6 separate regions of the Homo sapiens genome follow, and all the other regions are linked to region 4. The links are contacts of gene promoters, found by promoter capture Hi-C in blood cells and fetal thymus (Javierre and others, 2016). All regions are on one chromosome and are shown on one strand. Each heading gives the region's core, a stretch centred on a gene start or on the middle of the fragment in contact. The rest is flanking DNA. Distances are from core to core; before and after follow the strand shown. Region 1 overlaps COL8A1 (collagen type VIII alpha 1 chain). Region 2 overlaps CMSS1 (cms1 ribosomal small subunit homolog). Region 3 overlaps COL8A1 (collagen type VIII alpha 1 chain). Region 4 holds the start of CPOX (coproporphyrinogen oxidase). Region 5 overlaps COL8A1 (collagen type VIII alpha 1 chain). Region 6 has its middle 9.2 kb from the start of CMSS1.

Evidence for each region. Contacts are between HindIII fragments. The CHiCAGO score rates a contact against its expected background, and 5 or more counts as called.
Region 1: a fragment that was not itself captured here is called in contact with the fragment with the promoter of CPOX in region 4 in 1 of 17 cell types (naive CD4 T cells); the score reaches 5.1 in naive CD4 T cells.
Region 2: a fragment that was not itself captured here is called in contact with the fragment with the promoter of CPOX in region 4 in 1 of 17 cell types (total CD8 T cells); the score reaches 5.8 in total CD8 T cells.
Region 3: a contact is called between a fragment that was not itself captured here and the fragment with the promoter of CPOX in region 4, in 1 of 17 cell types (naive B cells). The highest score is 5.2, in naive B cells.
Region 5: a fragment that was not itself captured here is called in contact with the fragment with the promoter of CPOX in region 4 in 2 of 17 cell types (naive B cells and total B cells); the score reaches 10.2 in naive B cells.
Region 6: a contact is called between a fragment that was not itself captured here and the fragment with the promoter of CPOX in region 4, in 11 of 17 cell types (naive CD4 T cells, naive B cells, naive CD8 T cells and 8 more). The highest score is 10.0, in naive CD4 T cells.

What each region holds. Positions count from the first base shown.
Region 1 is chr3:99,785,782-99,788,546 of GRCh38, forward strand. All of the region lies in intron 2 of COL8A1 (collagen type VIII alpha 1 chain), which reads left to right. Among named protein-coding and RNA genes, the nearest start is that of CMSS1, 31 kb to the right of the region's middle. The HindIII fragment of the contact is 3,668 bases long and covers 1-2,765 here.
Region 2 is chr3:99,828,847-99,831,982 of GRCh38, forward strand. All of the region lies in intron 1 of CMSS1 (cms1 ribosomal small subunit homolog), which reads left to right. FILIP1L (filamin A interacting protein 1 like) reads right to left here. Exons shown (of 6, transcript NM_001387850.1): 6 at 1-1,759. The coding sequence ends at 1,568. The region is part of intron 1 of LOC105374010 (a long non-coding RNA gene); the gene reads left to right. Among named protein-coding and RNA genes, the nearest start is that of HP09053, 6.6 kb to the left of the region's middle. The HindIII fragment of the contact is 1,612 bases long and covers 780-2,391 here.
Region 3 is chr3:99,763,285-99,766,075 of GRCh38, forward strand. All of the region lies in intron 2 of COL8A1 (collagen type VIII alpha 1 chain), which reads left to right. Among named protein-coding and RNA genes, the nearest start is that of CMSS1, 53 kb to the right of the region's middle. The HindIII fragment of the contact is 1,060 bases long and covers 887-1,946 here.
Region 4 is chr3:98,592,010-98,595,043 of GRCh38, forward strand. CPOX (coproporphyrinogen oxidase) reads right to left here and starts at 1,602. Exons shown (of 7, transcript NM_000097.7): 1 at 940-1,602. The coding sequence starts at 1,495. RefSeq lists a silencer at 1,141-1,590 and an enhancer at 2,091-2,140. The HindIII fragment of the contact is 5,536 bases long and covers 642-3,034 here.
Region 5 is chr3:99,745,915-99,748,774 of GRCh38, forward strand. The region is part of intron 2 of COL8A1 (collagen type VIII alpha 1 chain); the gene reads left to right. Among named protein-coding and RNA genes, the nearest start is that of CMSS1, 71 kb to the right of the region's middle. The HindIII fragment of the contact is 263 bases long and covers 1,120-1,382 here.
Region 6 is chr3:99,807,268-99,810,068 of GRCh38, forward strand. No RefSeq gene overlaps it. Among named protein-coding and RNA genes, the nearest start is that of CMSS1, 9.2 kb to the right of the region's middle. The HindIII fragment of the contact is 1,074 bases long and covers 974-2,047 here.

The DNA of each region.
Region 1 (2,765 bases), core at 233-2,732, 1.2 Mb after region 4:
TCCAGCAGAATCCAACTCTGCCAATATCTTGATCTTGAACTTCAATGTCTCTAGAACTGTGAGAAAATTAATTTCTATTGAGCCACCCAGTCTGAGATACTTTGTTATGACAACCAGAGAAAACTATATGGTAGGACTGAAATCTACAGAGAAATAAAAGGAAAATAATTATCTTCCAGGAAAAAAGAATATCGTAAATAAAGAATTCAAAATGAGGTCAGGCATGGATGAAGAACATACTTTTGAAATGAGTCTATATTAGTGAAAGGTACCTTCAACTAACATTGTAGTAAACAGGACTCTTTCCTTTTTTCCCCATACGTTGTCTTAAGAAAGATACATCTCTCAACCTTCACATCTCTATCCAAAATTTACTTCCTCAGATGTCATTCCCTACCGTTCTTTCCAAAACATCGGAGCTCTTCCACTCTGTCATTATTGAACCCTTTATCCTGCTGCTATACATTGAATGTTTATGTCCCCAAATTCATATGTTAAAATATGACACCCCCCTCCGAAAGTGATGGTATTAGGAGGTGGGGCCTATGGGAGATAATTAGATCATGAGTGCAAAGTCCTCATGAACAGAATTAGTGCTCATATAAAAGAGACTCCAGAGAGCTCCCTTGCCCCTTTTATCATGTAAGGATACAGCAAAATGGTGTCATCTATGAACCAGAAAGTGGGTCTTCACTAGACAACCAATCTGCTGGCACCTTGATCTTGAACTTCCCAGCCTCATGAACACTGAGAAATTGCTGTTCTTTATAAACCACTCAACCTATGGTATTTTGCTACAGCAGCCCTAATGACTAAGACACCTGCATTGCTTTTTCAAAGCACTCAAATCTCAAATTATAAAATGTATTTTTAACATTTATCACCTGTCTCTCCACACTAGACTGTGAGTTCAATAAGATAATACCTCCACTCTCTAATTCACCACTGTATCTCCAATACTCAGAACATTTCCTGTTCTGAGTGTTCAATAGGTGTTCAATAGGTATATCTAATGAATGAATTGCCCTGAGAAATGCAATCAAGAGAGAATTTTCTTTGAGAGGCATGGAAAAACCAGGAAGGCAATTCTGGTGAACACTGGAAGAGGATTCTGCCTGACTTTCCCTTGCTTTAGGGTGGCAAATCTGAGGGTCTTGAGAGACTACAAATCTTGTACAAGTAGGAGGCACAGAGGACCAGCCCAGGAACTGATTAGAGAGGCTTATACACACCACACACAACAGAGACACACATACATACACAAAGACATGCTGTGTTAGCCTATGTGAAAGGGAAAGTTGGATTCAAGGCAAGGACCAACAGATTAAATATTTAAACATTCTTCTGTATAGTAAGCCAATGAGGATAAACGTACAAATAGAATGCTGATGAGCATTTAAAATATCTATCACATTATTCTGTTAATATATGTATCACATTACTCTGTTATGTACATTACAGGTCATATGAGGAATCTGAAATTCTCTGCAGCCCTGCTCAAATATAGGAAGCCATTTAGGGCTGTTCAAAGTATCTAGGATTGGTTATTCTTGACACATGAATGAATGACTGCCTTGGTTCAGCTGTTCTTTTTCTAAATCATTTTTAACAAGTGCATTTTAATGGCCATTACTGTTTTATTCATGTTAGGTTATCATTATTGCAGTTAACCTCACATTTACTTTGCTAGTATCTTTCTTTGAAAATCTTTGACATTTTAGTTGGTTTTGATTTGTCTTTCTGGTCACACTCCATTAATAATAACTTAAATCTGAATAGTCCTTTTTGGCTTATGAAGAATTCATATTATCATTTGTACCCCTGAACAGCTCTGAGGGATGGGCAGAGATTATAATTGCTATTTTACAGGTAAGAAAACTGAGGCTTAGTGAAGATAAAGGACTTGTCCAAGGTCATAGGCATGAAGAATGGCAGAGCCAAAACTTAAATAAAAGTCTTTTGACTTCTTTGACAGTGCTTTTGTCATATGACATGACACCCATCACTAAGCCAGCCTGGCTGGCAAAGATTCAATGTTCACACACATTAGATATGCTTATGTTCAAGAACACAAATACACACACACACACACACCCACACCCACACACACACACACCAGCTGTCAAACAAATAGAAATCAAAGAAAATATTAAGGAGAACTCACAATATTATTGTGTCCCACATTCTCAGAAAGAGAGGCATGAAAACCCACTATCACAATTTCTTCCCAGCAAAAATTCCAAGGCTCCTTCTTTCTTGCCAGGTGTTTGTATAAAGTTACCCAAATTTGATGTTCTTTTGAGTGATTTGGGAGAACCCCCATACCACTTTGACCACCAAAAATATCCTCAGGGACAGGAGAAAAATTAGTAGGAATAAGTAAAGCAGTAAATTCTAACCAGGGCCCTTATATAAATATTCACGTTAAAACTGAACAAAGTTTATTTAGATAAAGAGCCAGAGAAATGGCAGAAGGCAGACCTAAAGAGCTGGTTTACAGGACAGATATGCTGAGCCTATGAGAGGAAATAATTCAACTGGTATTCTTCCAGGCATTTCATCTCCTTCCAGTTTTCCAGTATTTCATTAGATTGTCCTGGTTTAAAGATTATGAAGTATAATCCAACATATCCACTGAATTGATGGAAGGCTGAAGGGCCAAACATGCTAGCTTATTATTAAAGACTTCACCACAAGTCTGGGGTTCCATAATTAAATTCATTCATCCCCAAAAGTAGAATTAAGTACCAGCTTATACATTACCA
Region 2 (3,136 bases), core at 336-2,835, 1.2 Mb after region 4:
GACCTCCCCCTACTGCCCTCTGCCACTTGCCTGCTGGGACTGCTGCCCATCATCCCTCTCAATGCTGCCTATCATCCCTCTCAATGCTGCCCATCATCCCTCTCAATGCTGCCCATCATCCCTTTCAATGCTGCCCAGGCCTCTAGCTCCTTCTCCTCCTTGAAATTGCAGGGGCCTGGGGGTGTTTGTACAGTGGCATTAGTGCAATGAGGTGGACTTAGTTAGATAAGTATGGGGAATGGGAGTTCCTTTACTCTTGCTCTGCTGGCTCCAACCCAGGGCAGCTGGCTAAAGCAGTCCTTAACCATGAGGATTTCTTCCAGGGTCATGCTTCCAGTTTTTAGTGAAGGATCACAAAAAATGTTTAGTGTCGTTCCATTGATTTTTTTCCCCCCTCGATTGAAGCTTTTTGAAATGTTTTTTGAACTGCCTTTTGTGTCAAACATGCCTTGTCTTAAAATGTCCTGTATTACTCTGTCCACACTGAATTACAGGCACACCTTTCTCTCAATTCAATGAGAGAGTTTTCAGTGTGATGTAAAGAATTGCTTTAGCTTTCTGCCAGGGGACTGTGTCTACCCTTATAGATGACTGTTTGAATTCAACATTTTGTATTAATAGTTGGGCATATTCATAGGTTATCAGAACTGGAAGGGACCTGAGGAATTATTTCACTTTCCTGTTTTACATGTGGAAACTCAAGGCTTAGATTGATGAATGCAAAGCTCGTTGTCACATGAATGAAAATCTAGGATTGGAATTTGAGTCTCCTAACCCCAAGCTTTTGTTGAATCAACTGATTTTCGATAGTGTTTATTCAGAGAAGAGATATGAATAAACAATGTCCTGTGAGATGATAAATTCTGTATTTTTTCAAGCACCTGGAATATTGATTCATGTCTCCCTAAAATATCTCAATGTTACTGAGACTAAGTGCCAGTGGTCAGGTATGCTTACTACACCAGTGATTGTCAGGTATTCTGCACAAAGGATATATTCGGCTGTTATTCACTTTTGTTATGCTTTTCCTCCTTTAAGAATTATCACTTTGCTTTTTCCCTCCTGGTCATAAAGAAATCATAGTTTTAGACCTTAAAGTGTGATTTTAATTGTCCTGTCATCTTGATGGAAATAATCTGATTTTCTTGACTCAGATTAGGAATTTTTGCTATCACCTTTTCTTAGCAAAATATGATTAATCAGCAAAGTTCTGTAGAATGAAGAATTACTTCTGTTTTCACCAGAAAACTCTTGAACTGTTCTAGTGAATTCAGTCCTATCCCAGGCTGATTCTAGATAGTTCATCTTTGGGTTAGATTATATGTCGGATGAGGAAATGGGTAGATTTGGGTGTGGGTCTAGGCCTGCGAGTGTTTGTGTGTGCATATACACATATAGAAGTAAAATAATTGTAGACGTGCTGCTTTTTGGGGGATGATCTTCATCAGGTCCACAAAGCTGCTTCACCATTTCCTGGAGAGATGGTCCTTTGGCCTTTCATAGTGGTAATTTTAGCTTTCCACATATTTCTGTAGATGAATGTATCCAGGCAGTGCATTGGTATGAGTTACCTTCTCCCTCCCACGTGGAGGAAGGTGTTGGAGGTGACAGTTCTCACGATGTGTAGCTTCCCACAGCCATTTTGGTAAATAGGCTTATCCATAGGCACTGTGGGGGCTTTAGTGGAAATCTTGGTGATGCCTGTAGATTTCGGTTTAGGGATCCGTGCTGGGATTCTCTGCTTGCATACCTCCTTGATCTTGAATTAAACAAGAGAACAAAAGGTAATTAATGGTACAGTTGGTGGAGAAGTAGAAATTGTTTAGGACATGGAGTCAGTTTGGAGGATTTGGCTTTGAAAGCACCAGTTTCTGGGGATGTATCAGATCAAAGATCGTCAGGTTGAAGAAAAGAATGTCAGTAAAGTAATCTGGTGTGTGTTGAATGTGTGCTGTGTGCACAGTTCTTGATAGAGATAGTGGTAGATACAGAGATGAATAGATATTTGGCAATCACGGTGTAGTAGGACATATACAAGAGTAGTGTCCCAAATTAATCTCAAAGAGCCATGAGATTGCCAGAGAAAGGTTAATTTCGAATGAGATTGTCTTTAAGAGTGCTTCATGAAGAATATGGCATTTGACTTGGGCCTTCAGACTTTTAAAAGTTTTCACAGTATGAGTGAGATGGGCAGCTCCAATGATGATTAGTGGAACAGCTTGGTAGTATGTATCAAGAGCCTTATGAATCTTTTCTAGGATGTAGAGAGGCAGTCAAGGATATTTGATTTTAGCATTGTTTATAATGATGAAAAATGGACAGTTAAATGAATAGGATGTGTTAAATGAATTATAGTATAATTATGACAACATGCTTTGTTAATGAGGCCAAAGCTTCAGGAAAACGTTTACTTAGATATGTTAAAAGTAGAATTTAAAACTGTGTACATGCTTTAATTATTTACATGTGAAGAGAAAAATACTAAAAGAAAATGCACCCATGCTATTGGTTGTTAACCCTGATTAGTGGACTTACAGGTACTTTTGATTTTTCTTACATTTTCTGTGTTCTCCACATATTTTATAGTAAGTATGCTATGAGAAAAAGGAACACTAAATTGTTTTAAAAGACGAAAAAGGAAGGAAACAACTTGGAGATCAGGACATTTCTGTGAACAACCATATTATCCAAGCCATGAGCAGTAGAAGCTGCAGTTGAAGTCAGTGACAGACTAATCAAGTCTGCTAATATTGTGACTATAGCATTAATAATAGCCTTCCCAAGATGGATTTCTGTGATGTCCTGTAACTTTATCAAGATTTAGATTGGGTCTCCAATTTAGTGTTCAAAAATCTATGTTGGGATCGTCTTTAAATTGTAGATTTCTGAATCTTACTCCTATGCATTGTAATTCATTGGTTTGTGGATATGTCCAGCAATTCACATTTTTAATAAACTCTCAGAGTGATTTCTTCAACTCAGGTGGTTGGCCTACCACACTTGGAAAAGTGCTGCCATAATTGAACTTCCTTTAGATGTAAGCTTTATTTTTTCTTCACCTGGAACTCTAGCCTACCTGGGTATGCATAGTTCAATACTGTGAAAGGCCGAGACAGATTGGTATGACACACAGTAT
Region 3 (2,791 bases), core at 167-2,666, 1.2 Mb after region 4:
TCATAAATTTCTTTAGAAGACAAAATAAGCAGAAGTCAGAGAAATGTACTCTGGGAGATGAGAGGGAAGGATGGGTTCCTTGGGTTTACATTTGTTCTAAGTAAGATAGGCTGTGCACCTCCTGCCTGTCTAAACCTCTGAATCCACTCCTGCCTCTACCAGTAATGATAACAATAATAATAACAGTTAATACCTACATCGCACTTACTTCATGCCGGACATCATTCTAAACACTTTACATGCATATACTTATTTAATCTGCATTAAAGTCCTATGAGGTCGGTATTATTATTATTATCCTCATTTTCTGGAAAAGGAAAATGAGGCACAAAAACATTTTTGGAAAAAAAAAACAAACTTTCCCTAAAGTCATGTAGGTAATAGTGTTCAGAGCTGGGGTTTTAACCCAGGCAGTGTGGCTCTACAATCCATGCACCCAGTACCATGTTCTGCTTCCTGAGGTGGTCTACCACCCAAGGACTAGCCAGCTCAGCCAATTGGTCACCATCTACTCTGCCGTGATTCCCCAAGTAACCATGCATTTGACCCCAGTAGTTGGAGGCCTCACCTAGAAAAACTGTCTCTTTGGCTGACCTGAGATTTCTTGCTTTCACCTGGGGTGATCTACCACCCAAGGACTAGCCAGCTCAGCCAATTGGTCACCATCTACTCCGCCAGGCTTCCCCAAGTAACCATGCATTTGACTCCAGTAGTTGGAGGCTTGACCTAGAAGAACTGTTTCGTTGGCTGACCCAGGATTTCTTGCTTTCTCTGTGGTAAGAACAGCCTCCTCCTCCTCAGGCCCAGTGACTATCACCCACCAGAGGCCTGGAAAACCATATCACGCCCAAATTCTCTTAACACCTAACTGAACTTTTTATATAGAAGCTTTGTGCATAAGAATTTTCTTATTTTCTTAAGGTTCACAAAACATTAGAGATTGTGCCTTATTTTTGTTTCCAATTTACAGTAGAGTTCTTTGCATGTAAGAGGTATCCAGAGATTTCTTAATAAATAAAGTCCTGCTGTATTCTTCAATAACTCTGAGTTTTAATCTGGCAGCTCAATGAATATAAAGAGCAGAACAACATTAGTATAAATTTCAAATTCAATTATGAGTTACATGAATATGAAAAGTATTTTTGTGCCCCTGTACATATATGTGTGTGCGTGTACACCACGATCTATTCAATATTCAAAGTTCCCATTCAAACAAGTAATATGTTGTTAGTAGTTAAGTGCTTAGAACCTGGAGGTAGATTCCCTGAGCTCAAATTCCAGTCCTGTTACTTACTGACTGTAGGATTTTTGACATGCTATTTAAAACCTCTGTGCCTTGAATGCCACATAGATAAGTAAGAATAATTATGGTAGTAGCTTTCAGTCAGGCAGATTTTTCTTTTTTTTCTTTTTTTTCTTTTTTTTTTTTTTTTGAGATGGAGTCTCCCTCTGTCGCCCAGGCCGGAGTGCAGTGGCGAGATCTTGGTTCATCTGCAACCTCTGCAGTCAGGCAGATTTTTCTAAGAATTAAATAAGTTAACCAATATAGGTGCTTAAATCAATTAATCAATGTAAAGTGCTTTTAACAGTGTCTGGCCAATAGTAAGTTCTCCATAAATGTTAGCTGTCATGTCAAACCATCCCATAATTCAAGTATAAATATGGTACCATTCAACACATAAAATAGTTGCATTTTTTAAGGGATTGATGAAGTTGTTAACCATACTTTCTCTTTATGGTTATTAAGAGAACAGTTATTAATAATAATAGTTAACAGAAAAAAATAACAAAGATGATACAACAAGGAATAACAGAATATAATACATGCTGCATTGGCCACCAAGTGTAGGCAATGTAACAAGTTACATTATGAAATGGCTCACAGAGACATGGTCTTGGCTATCAACATTATCAGCTGATTCACTATTCCCCTCTGTCTTAAAGGAAGCTTCACCCTTCTCAGAATAACAGGAAGCAGAGACTTCAATCTTAGCTCCAGTCTGGTAAACTGCTCAAACTCACACCAACCAACAGCAAGAGAATGAACTTCACAATCCCCAGCCAACATCCCATCCATTCAGCAAAGGGTATCTAGTAGAACAGGGAATACAATGAGAATCCACAATAATGTCGTGTTTTGTTTACACTCTACAATGAAGCCAGAGGGAATTATAGCAGGACTGCTGTATCCAAGATGTTTCAAAGTATATGCACCAGTCTAATCCTTTTTGGAGGCCAAATTCCTTCTTTTGTGATGTTAACATTTGCTGTACAAACCCTCCCAAATTCGTCCCCAGGCCTTCTTCAATGTAAAGCTTGGAACACTTCTTATTCTACATCTAGTTCTAGTTTACATCATTAGGATGTGGTATTTTCTCAATATCATTCACATAAGTCAGGGATCCCTGTAACCAGAGTAATGCTCAATTGCTCCTTTAACTCCTTTTGGTCAAATCTATGTTCTTGGCACCCAACCTAAGAATGTTAACATTTTGTGGTTACTAGATGTTTTTAATACCATTCTCTTCTCTAACACAACAGATTTATCTTCTGATGCCTTATCAAAATTACTAAAATTACATTCCAATTTCAGAAAAGTGTACTAAATACCATTCAATGCAACATAAAGTGGCTGTGACCACAGGTATTTTCTTTCTTAGGCTAATATATAGTATTTATATATCAAATGTTAGCTCAACAAACCCAGGAGATATTACTTCTTTTAAGGACAATTTTGTTCATAGATATGCCGAAGGTACCAGAGCTGGTTGGTAAAAAGAATATTAATATC
Region 4 (3,034 bases), core at 352-2,851:
TGTAGTATGAGGATTAAAAGAGATGAAATACATATATATTTCATAGATGGGAAAACAGCCATAAAAAAGTAACTTCTGAGGATCACACAGCTGGTCTAGTACTTGAGGTTGTGTCCTGGTTCAGTGGTCTTTGCTTGAAAACATAAGATGGAAAACTAGACTGAACTTCATTTAATATAGATGTGTCAGTATCACAGCTCAAAATCTGCCGGTGAGAAGCTGCTGTTGTATTTCCAGCTAGGAAAAGTCAGGAATCTTTCAAGTTTCCACTCAAGATGTGGGGTTTCACTGTATGGGCAACAACATGGTCATGAATGTACGCCTCTACGAGAACTGGGTTTTGATGCTCAAGTATTTTGATATTGGAAGAGAAGATTTTCCTAGCAGGAAATCTGATGCGTGCATTTGGTAGTGCTACTGAGAAACGAATCAAATATATCTTGTGTAACAGTAAAAAGAAGTGGGAAGATTCTGACACAATGACATCCTGGCTGGAGGAGTTTAGCCGACACTTAGCGCACAGGAGATGAGTTCTTTCCATCTCCTAAAGAGGAAAAAGGGCAAATTCACCCAGAGAAGGAGAGAAAATGTGTTCCATAATCTATTGAAATTTATGTTCAGTAACGAACTTTGGACATCTAAGCTTGTTAGCTGCAAATACCCCTTAAGAGTTCTACAAAAAAATGCTGCTACGGAATTGCAAAGATTTTGAAATGCAGTACTACAGTGACAGCTGATCCGGGTCCATACCTGCAAGCAGAGGGCTAGTGACCCTTTCGTGTCCATCTTTTTATCAGCGGCCTCTAACCAAGCGGCCTCTCTGTGGGTACCCCCTACCTACCCCATCCCATATTGTGAACTATTATATTTTCTGTCTGCAACCTGGAACCTGACCCTTTTTCCCTGTCTCCAACTCCCGCCAGGGGCCGGCCTCCTTACCTTCCTTCCTCTCCCACCGGTCCACAGAAAAGTTGGCGCCCCCGTCTACCTGTGCCAGAGCCTGGCACACCTGGGCCTGGGTCTCCAGAATCAGCAGCTCCATCTTGGTCTTCATGTCGCCCGGCCTCCTTCGCAGCTCGCCCAGGTCGGTCACAGGCGGGGCCATGAAGCTGCTGCAGCGGTGGGCCAGCTCATCCTCCTCCTCCTCCGGCCTCCCCAGCGAAGTGGCCCGCGTCCCCGAGGTCTTAGGCAACATCTCCGCCCGCTGCACATGCCCGAAGGCGGCGGTGGCCAGCCCCACCAACCCCGCCAGCGCCGCGGCCAGCCCTGTCCCCACCCAGGGGCCGCCTCTCGACGTCGAGCCGTGCCCCAGCCCGCGGCTCTGCTCCGTGCCAGCCGGGCCAGGGGGCCGGCAGACGCGTCCGGCTGCGCTGCGCTGGGACCAGGCTCGGAGCCCTCCGCCGCCGCACTGGGACCAGGCGCGGGGCCCTCCGCAGCCGCCCCGCGCCACGAGCCAGCAGGGGCCCGAGCTCAGCCTGCCCAGCTGCAAGGCCATGTTCCCGCACTATCACCTGGAGCAGTGCCTGCGTCCCAGAGCCCTGCGTTTGAGCCCCCCACCCAGACCCCCGGAGTATTGAGCCGGCGAGCTGCACAGGCGGAAAGAACCTTTCGAGAAGAGCCGCTGCAGCGTCGGGCTCCGGAGGCGGGGGCGGGAACTGGGGCGCGCTGGGAGCTGTAGTCCGGATCCTATCGCCGCCTGCGGCGTCCCTGCGCGGGGCGGGAGATAAGAATCCGACGCGCCCAGAAGGGCTGGTCCGAAGGGAAGAGAGTGGGGCGGGGACGGTGCTGTGGAAGGGACGGGAGAGATAAAAGAGGCTTTCTTGTCACGTACAACCTCGGGTCGGCTGTTTACTCAGCCAAGGAGAGAAGATAGAGTAGGGCTGGGAGGCTGAGGGCGGACTGGGGCGGAAATGTGGCAGAGATCCCAGTCCCGCTTACATTTTCAAACAGGATTTGCGAATACAGAGCCTGGCTCAGGATCTGTATAGACCCGCCCTTCGCCCTGGGTCCTGGTCCTCTAGAGTTTTTAGAGGGGATGGGCAGGCTGGGAAACTCTTTGCTGAAGGATGGTTTTCTAAAGAGAGTGGGAGAAGCTAGTAATGGACTCGGAAGAGAGTCGAGGAGAAGACTTTCTGTGATCGAGTCCACATCACAGTTCTGTCCTTAAGATTTCCCCAGGCTGGGGCCGGGCGCGGTGGCTCAAGCCTGTAATGCTAGCATTTTGGAAAGCCGAGGCGGTTGGATCACATGAGGTCAGGAGTTCGAGACCAGCCAACATGGTGAAACCCTGTCTCTACTAAAACTACAAAAAAATAGCCGGGCGTGGCGGCGTGCACCTGTAGGCTCAGCTACTCGGGAGGCTGAGGCAGGAGAATCGCTTGAACCCGGGAGGCAGAGGTTGTAGTGAGCCGAGATCGCACCACTGCACTCCAGCCTGGGTGACAGAGTGAGACTCTGTCTCAGAAAAAAAAAAAAAAAAAAAAGGTTTCCCCAGGCCTTGCTTCTATAGTGCCTACTTGATTATTTTAGAAAAAGGAAAAGCAACGTGACTGTTTTGGTTAACCAGTAGAAAATTCCTGACTTGGTGTGTTTTGGTGATTAACAAATAAGAATTTAAAAAATAGTTATTCTACTACTGTAGGGTGCTCCCAAATATTGCTCACGTTTAATACTTACAACAACTGCTACAAACTAGGCAAGGCAAATATCCACACTTCCTCCTACTCTGTCTCCCTTCCCCCACCCTTTAAAGAAATGAGGAAAGAAGCTAATAGATTTGACAGGCAGGTCTTTGTCTCCCCTGTAACCATACCACAGCTCCATGGTTCCTGGACGTAAAAGTGTGAGAACTATTGTCATGGGCTAATTTGTCCCATAAGTCTCCGGGATGATTTTAATTTCTAGTAGTAGATAATAATTTAAGCCACTGGTAGCTTTTCCCACAAGTGTTTTCTTTGTGGCAGGATGCACTGATGGAACTTCAATGGCTTTTGAGTCAGATCAATTGGCATCTTGTCCACACACAACTGTACCT
Region 5 (2,860 bases), core at 1-2,500, 1.2 Mb after region 4:
ACTATTGCCTGGTCTTAAGTGTGACTTTTGGACACACGACTCAATATTTCCTGATATATAATAGTACAATGGTTTTTATAGTCTATTTAATTTTATTTCATAATTAAAAGAATGAATTGCTAAGATTCCCCAGATTTTTCTTGTTCTTTTTGGGACAGGGTGGACACCTGAACGAAAGGAAAAGCACAGCATTTAGCCCTATCATTAATCCCTCATTGACTGCATCCTGTCTAGAATGCATCCATTTAGAGTTCCTGGAGAAATGCAAATACATTAATGATTTTACTAAGGCATTACATTTTTAATATAGGTACCACTAATTATTTTGGCTGGATTCCATCAAAGCCAGATGTTCTCCAAATGAAATATTTATAATGCAAACCCAGGGAATAAAAAAATACATGCTCATTGAAGCAGCAGATTATAGGACTCGTGGATATTAGAAAAACTGAGGAAAGAGGCATGATGTGGGTAACAGCCATAATGTCAGAGTAAGCCTCTGAACTCAACCCAGAGAAACTTTGTAATTGTTGCAACCAGTGATAGGCTCGGCTTCTGGATTTCTTGTAACAAAATCTTACTGCCAAGGGCATTGATGAGCTCTCCCAGTAAAAAAAGTATAATAATAATGTTAAACTAAATCATAAAAATGCAGAAGGTGGTTATTAAAGGGCAGAGGAGAGAAATTGCTTGTAAAGTTCTGGTGGAAATATCAAAAATACATTTTATTGAACTTTTAAGAAATTAAGCTCTTTGTTTTTAAACTAGGGTGCAAAAGCAATAAAACTTAAAGGCCATTCAATAAACTATTTCATTCAATGGTCATCAGCAATGATTCAGCAGTAAAAATAAAAATCACATTTATTCAACATGGTCATCAATTCAGGCAGGCCTGAAGCTTACAAATGATAAGTTTGTCAGTGAAAATAACCAGCTGAAAGTATTTTTAAATGAATTTTGATTGAAAAAATAATAAAGAATTTTTTGAATGTACACCTTTTTCTTAGTGAAAATGGACTTGGTTTAACTTGACATAGTATAAAACTCTTAATGTTTTATGTAGTTTATTAAGTTCTATGAAGAAATGTATTTGAAACAAATGTAGATAATGACCAAAAAAGCTTAAATATGAACACCATGATAGGCATACAATTAAGAAAATGGAAATAGATCATGATAACTAATCTTTTGCATGCCCTCCAAAAGCACAGAATGTAACTTTTTTAATTATTTTTAATAATCTAGAGTTTTCTTTCTGATCCTTTTACCTTCCAAAAATATAGATTCCTGAATGATAGAACATAGACATTTTGGTAGACAGATTATATATTTTCCTCAAGTTAAATAACATATACCTCTAAGCAACAATCATCATAAAAACAAGCTTTTTGCTCATTAAGATACCTAATGTGCCTTACACATAGTATGTACTAAATAATATGGGTTGAACTGAATTATTCCCATTTTTTGTTCAGCTATTAATGTGTCTCTTGGATTTACACTAGAGAGGTGGTGTCCCACACATGGGAATTAATGAGCTACATCTGTAACCAAAAATATCCACGGAAAACCTGTTGAATTGATCCATATCTGTTTTATTAATCAAGCCCACTACGGAAGGGCTTTCTTGTGGTTGTACTACACTTTGGAAATAAATAGAGTGGGGAAACCACAGTTCATTTTAAAAGTTGTTTGAAACTTTGAAGAACACGGGATTTTATATTATACGACAGCAATAAACTCCAATTTTTGATGACTGTAATTCTGAGTATATAAGTATATAAATATTCTGTACATATAATTTTACTGCAGAACATTATGACTGTGGCCAAGAAGACCCTTACTGTTCAATATGGAATTTACTTGTTACTGCCACTGTCTTCCTTCCTCAATTTTTTAAAATAAAAAGACTTTTAAAAATAAAAAGAAATTTTAAAACTAGCTTGGTATGAATAGCCTTTAGCTGAAGCAGATGGCTGGAAGTCAGAAGCCCCAGATTCTATCCTTCATTCTCCTACCAACTTGGAATGTGGCCTTGGGCAAGTCATGAGAGTAAATCTACAACAAAAGAGCTAATAATGCTTTACATGTGTATGGTGTTTTATGATCTAACAGAGCACTTTCACATACAATATCTTATTTAATCTTCCCCGCAGCTTCCTGAAAAGAGTATGGCAGTTATTAACGATCCCCATTATAAAGAGGAGGAATTTGAGACCCAGTGAAACTAAATCACTTTTTCAAGTCAGGAACAGTCATAGTCTAAGATTCCCGGCTGGTCTTTGTCTTTCCTCTACACCACATTGCCACCCTCTGGCACCTCCAATGGTGGCAAAGCAGGAATGACTATAGCTGCACTGTTCAATATGATAGCCACTAACCACATTCTGGTACTGAGCATATGAAATGTGGCTAGTCCCAATTGAGATGTGCTGTGAGTGTGAAATATACACCAAATTTCTAAGACTTGGAATGAAAAACAGAATGTAAAATGTCTCATCAATACTTTATATATTGATTGCATGTTGAAATGATATTTTTAATATTTTGAGTTAAATAAAAGTAATAAGTATAAATATATTAATAAATATTACCAAATATGGTTTAATAAAATTAATTTCACCTGTTTCTTTTTACTTATTAATATGATAATAAAAAACATAAAGTTGATATTTGACTCACATTGTCCCTATGCGACAGCACTGACCAGAGGATTCCACTGTTCAGAGCCCACATACTAATTTCACAGTACTGGACTTGTTTATGTACCTGGCTTGATGTAGCTGATACAAATTCCCTAAGATGCTGTCAAATAGAGGGCAAGGTAGATTAGCAGCAATGATTTGGGCATTCTCACACA
Region 6 (2,801 bases), core at 261-2,760, 1.2 Mb after region 4:
GTGTATATTCATGTTCATAGCAGCATTATTCACAATATCTAAAAGGTGGAATTAACCCAAGAGGCCACTAATGGATGAATGAATAAACAAAATGTGGCCTATAATGCAATGGACTATTATTCAGCCTTAAAAAGGAAGAATATTTTGACACATGCTATAACATGGATGAACCTTGAGGACATTATGCCAGTCACAAAATAACAAATATTGTATGACTGTACTTATATGCAGTACCTAGAGTAGTCAAATTCATAGAGGTAGCAAGCAGAATGGTGGTTGCCAGTGGCTCGAGTGAGGGGGGTTTTTGTATAATGGGCACAGAGTTTCAGTTTTGCAAGATAAAAAGAGTTCTGAGGATGAATGGTGGTGATGGTTGCACAACAATGTGAATGTACGTAATGCCACTGAACTAAACTGTACTTAATATACTTAAAAATGGTTAAGATAATAAATTTTATATTATGTATATTTTACAATTTCAAAAAATGATGTTAAAAAGTAAAACTAAAGGGTAAACTATTTATCAATAGGAATAAACCATAGGAGGCAATTGGAAATGACTTCCAGCAGCCTCCCTTACCTCCAAGTTCACTGCACTTCTCACCAATAATGCATCAGGGGCCTAAGCAGCAACATTTTGGTGGTCCAAAAACCACAAATCCCAGCTCTCCCAGGAACACTTCTGCAGACCATTATGGAAACTGCCACTTTCTGTGCCTCCTCTACTTCAGTGGATGTTACCTTCTAGAGACCTTAAGACCTGGCTGCTGGACGCAGATGCTCTGCCTTCACCCATTAACTTCAAAGTACAAACCCAAATGACTGGATTTCCTTTTCCTCAGGCCCAAATATGCAATCTGCATGCTAATTCTCTTATTACAAAAGCAAAGTTAACAATCAGGTTTTTCTTCCCCTAAATGAGAGGATCTTTACAGAGTCCATACATACTGAAGACATAAGATTAGAAAAAGGAAGCTTTAATTCAGCCACCTGACCTCAGCAGGCCCTGTCAGGAGAAGGAAGGAAAATCCACTGCCAATCTAGGCAGGGACCAACAAAGGAATACGGTTTTGGCAGCTTGCAGGTCCCTAAGGAACAAGGTCTCCCTCTCGTGGCCATGATAGAAACAGCAGTTCAAGAAGCAGGTTTCAGTCATTTTCTTCTTACAGGAATTCTGTTATGTCAGACATTCAGAAAGGTCATAGTGGGAATGGCTAGCCTCTGCTCCATGATGTCTTGGACCACAGCTTGGGATCAATCAACAGCTGGTGACTGGAATCACCTGGGGGTATCTTTATTTATAGGTCTGGCTGTGGATGCTGTCAGCAGGGACCTTAGCTGAGCTGTGGACCAGAATAGCTACACGTGTTCTTTCCACAGGGTTTCTCTGTGTGGGCTACTTTGAGCTTTCTCAGAGTGATGCCTGGGTTCCAAGTGAGCATCCCAAGGGAGCAAGGTGGAAATGCACAGAATTTTAGGGATCTAGCCTCAGAAGTCACCGAATATCATTTCTACCATGTTCTCTTGGTTGACATGATAAAGTTCTGCCAAGGTTCAAGGAAAGGGAACACAGATCCCACCACTCAATGGGAGAACTGTCAAGGTCAGATTACAAGAAGAGTAGGTGAGATGGAGGATATTGGTGGCCATCTTTGAAAAATACAATCTACCGCATTGTCCACCTGGTTGGTCAATGCTTCACTTGTAGTGGATACTCTCTGGTGGACACACACATGTGCCACAAAGACACACACACTTTGTGCTCACTCCTTTAGGTCCCTCCACATGCCTCTTCCTCAGGTCTCTTTATTATTGAACTTCACATATTCTATCTTAGAGACCTTTCACCCAATCAACCATACCATTCACTGTTGCTCAAGGCCCTACATTTACACTGACCTCAGACTATTTTCTCCATTCAAAGGAGATGAATGCATGTACTGAAGCTCTGCCAACCAGGATTCTGTTCACCTCTGTCCTTTAAGGATCCTCCCTGAGTGGAACCGCAGTGTAGTAGCAATCCATTTTCAGTTCTACCAACATACCAAGCTTAACCAGCTTTGAGCATTTTCCAACATTATCAGCTGGTCATAGAGAATAACCCAGAGGACATAGGTGTGAGCTGAGGAACACAAAAGGCAAGGAGCTCTGAGCCATCTGTTCATGTATCTTGTGACTTTTGGACTTGCTTACATGTGCTCGCATGTATACCATTTCTGTTGTTCAGTGGATTGTTACTGTGAGCACCCAACCTTACAAGAGCCAATTCCTGAAGGGCAGTTCTGGTCATATAGTCATTTGATATTCCATAGTCAAGTGCCTGTTTCTGCTAGGACTCTACATTTTGCCCACAGCTGCTTTTCAAATGGTTTGGCTGTAGAAGGCAAAGCTGTACTAGAAAATCCTTGGAGCAGGCACCGTGATTCTCTCTTTAGGATCTGCCAGAGATTCCATCCAGCATCATTATCTATCACTCAGCACCTTTGGATCTGCCATGTCATTATGGCCTGAGTGGCAGGGCAGCTTGTGTCGTAGCCAAGACTTGCTGCTGAGCCCTCCCTTCTCTTGACCCTATTCAAAAATGGCAGCCTTTTGAGTCACCTGATAAATGAGTTAGAACACTATTTCCAAATGTGGCATAGGCTATCTGCACAAAATACTGTTTCTCTTAGGGGAAGATGAGAGATACAAAAAATTTTCCTTTACATTGAAGGGGATTCCCAGGCATGCTTCAGATCACCAAACTCCTAAAAATATAACCAACATTGCAGTTCCCTGAACATTTGTAATTTCTCTCTCAC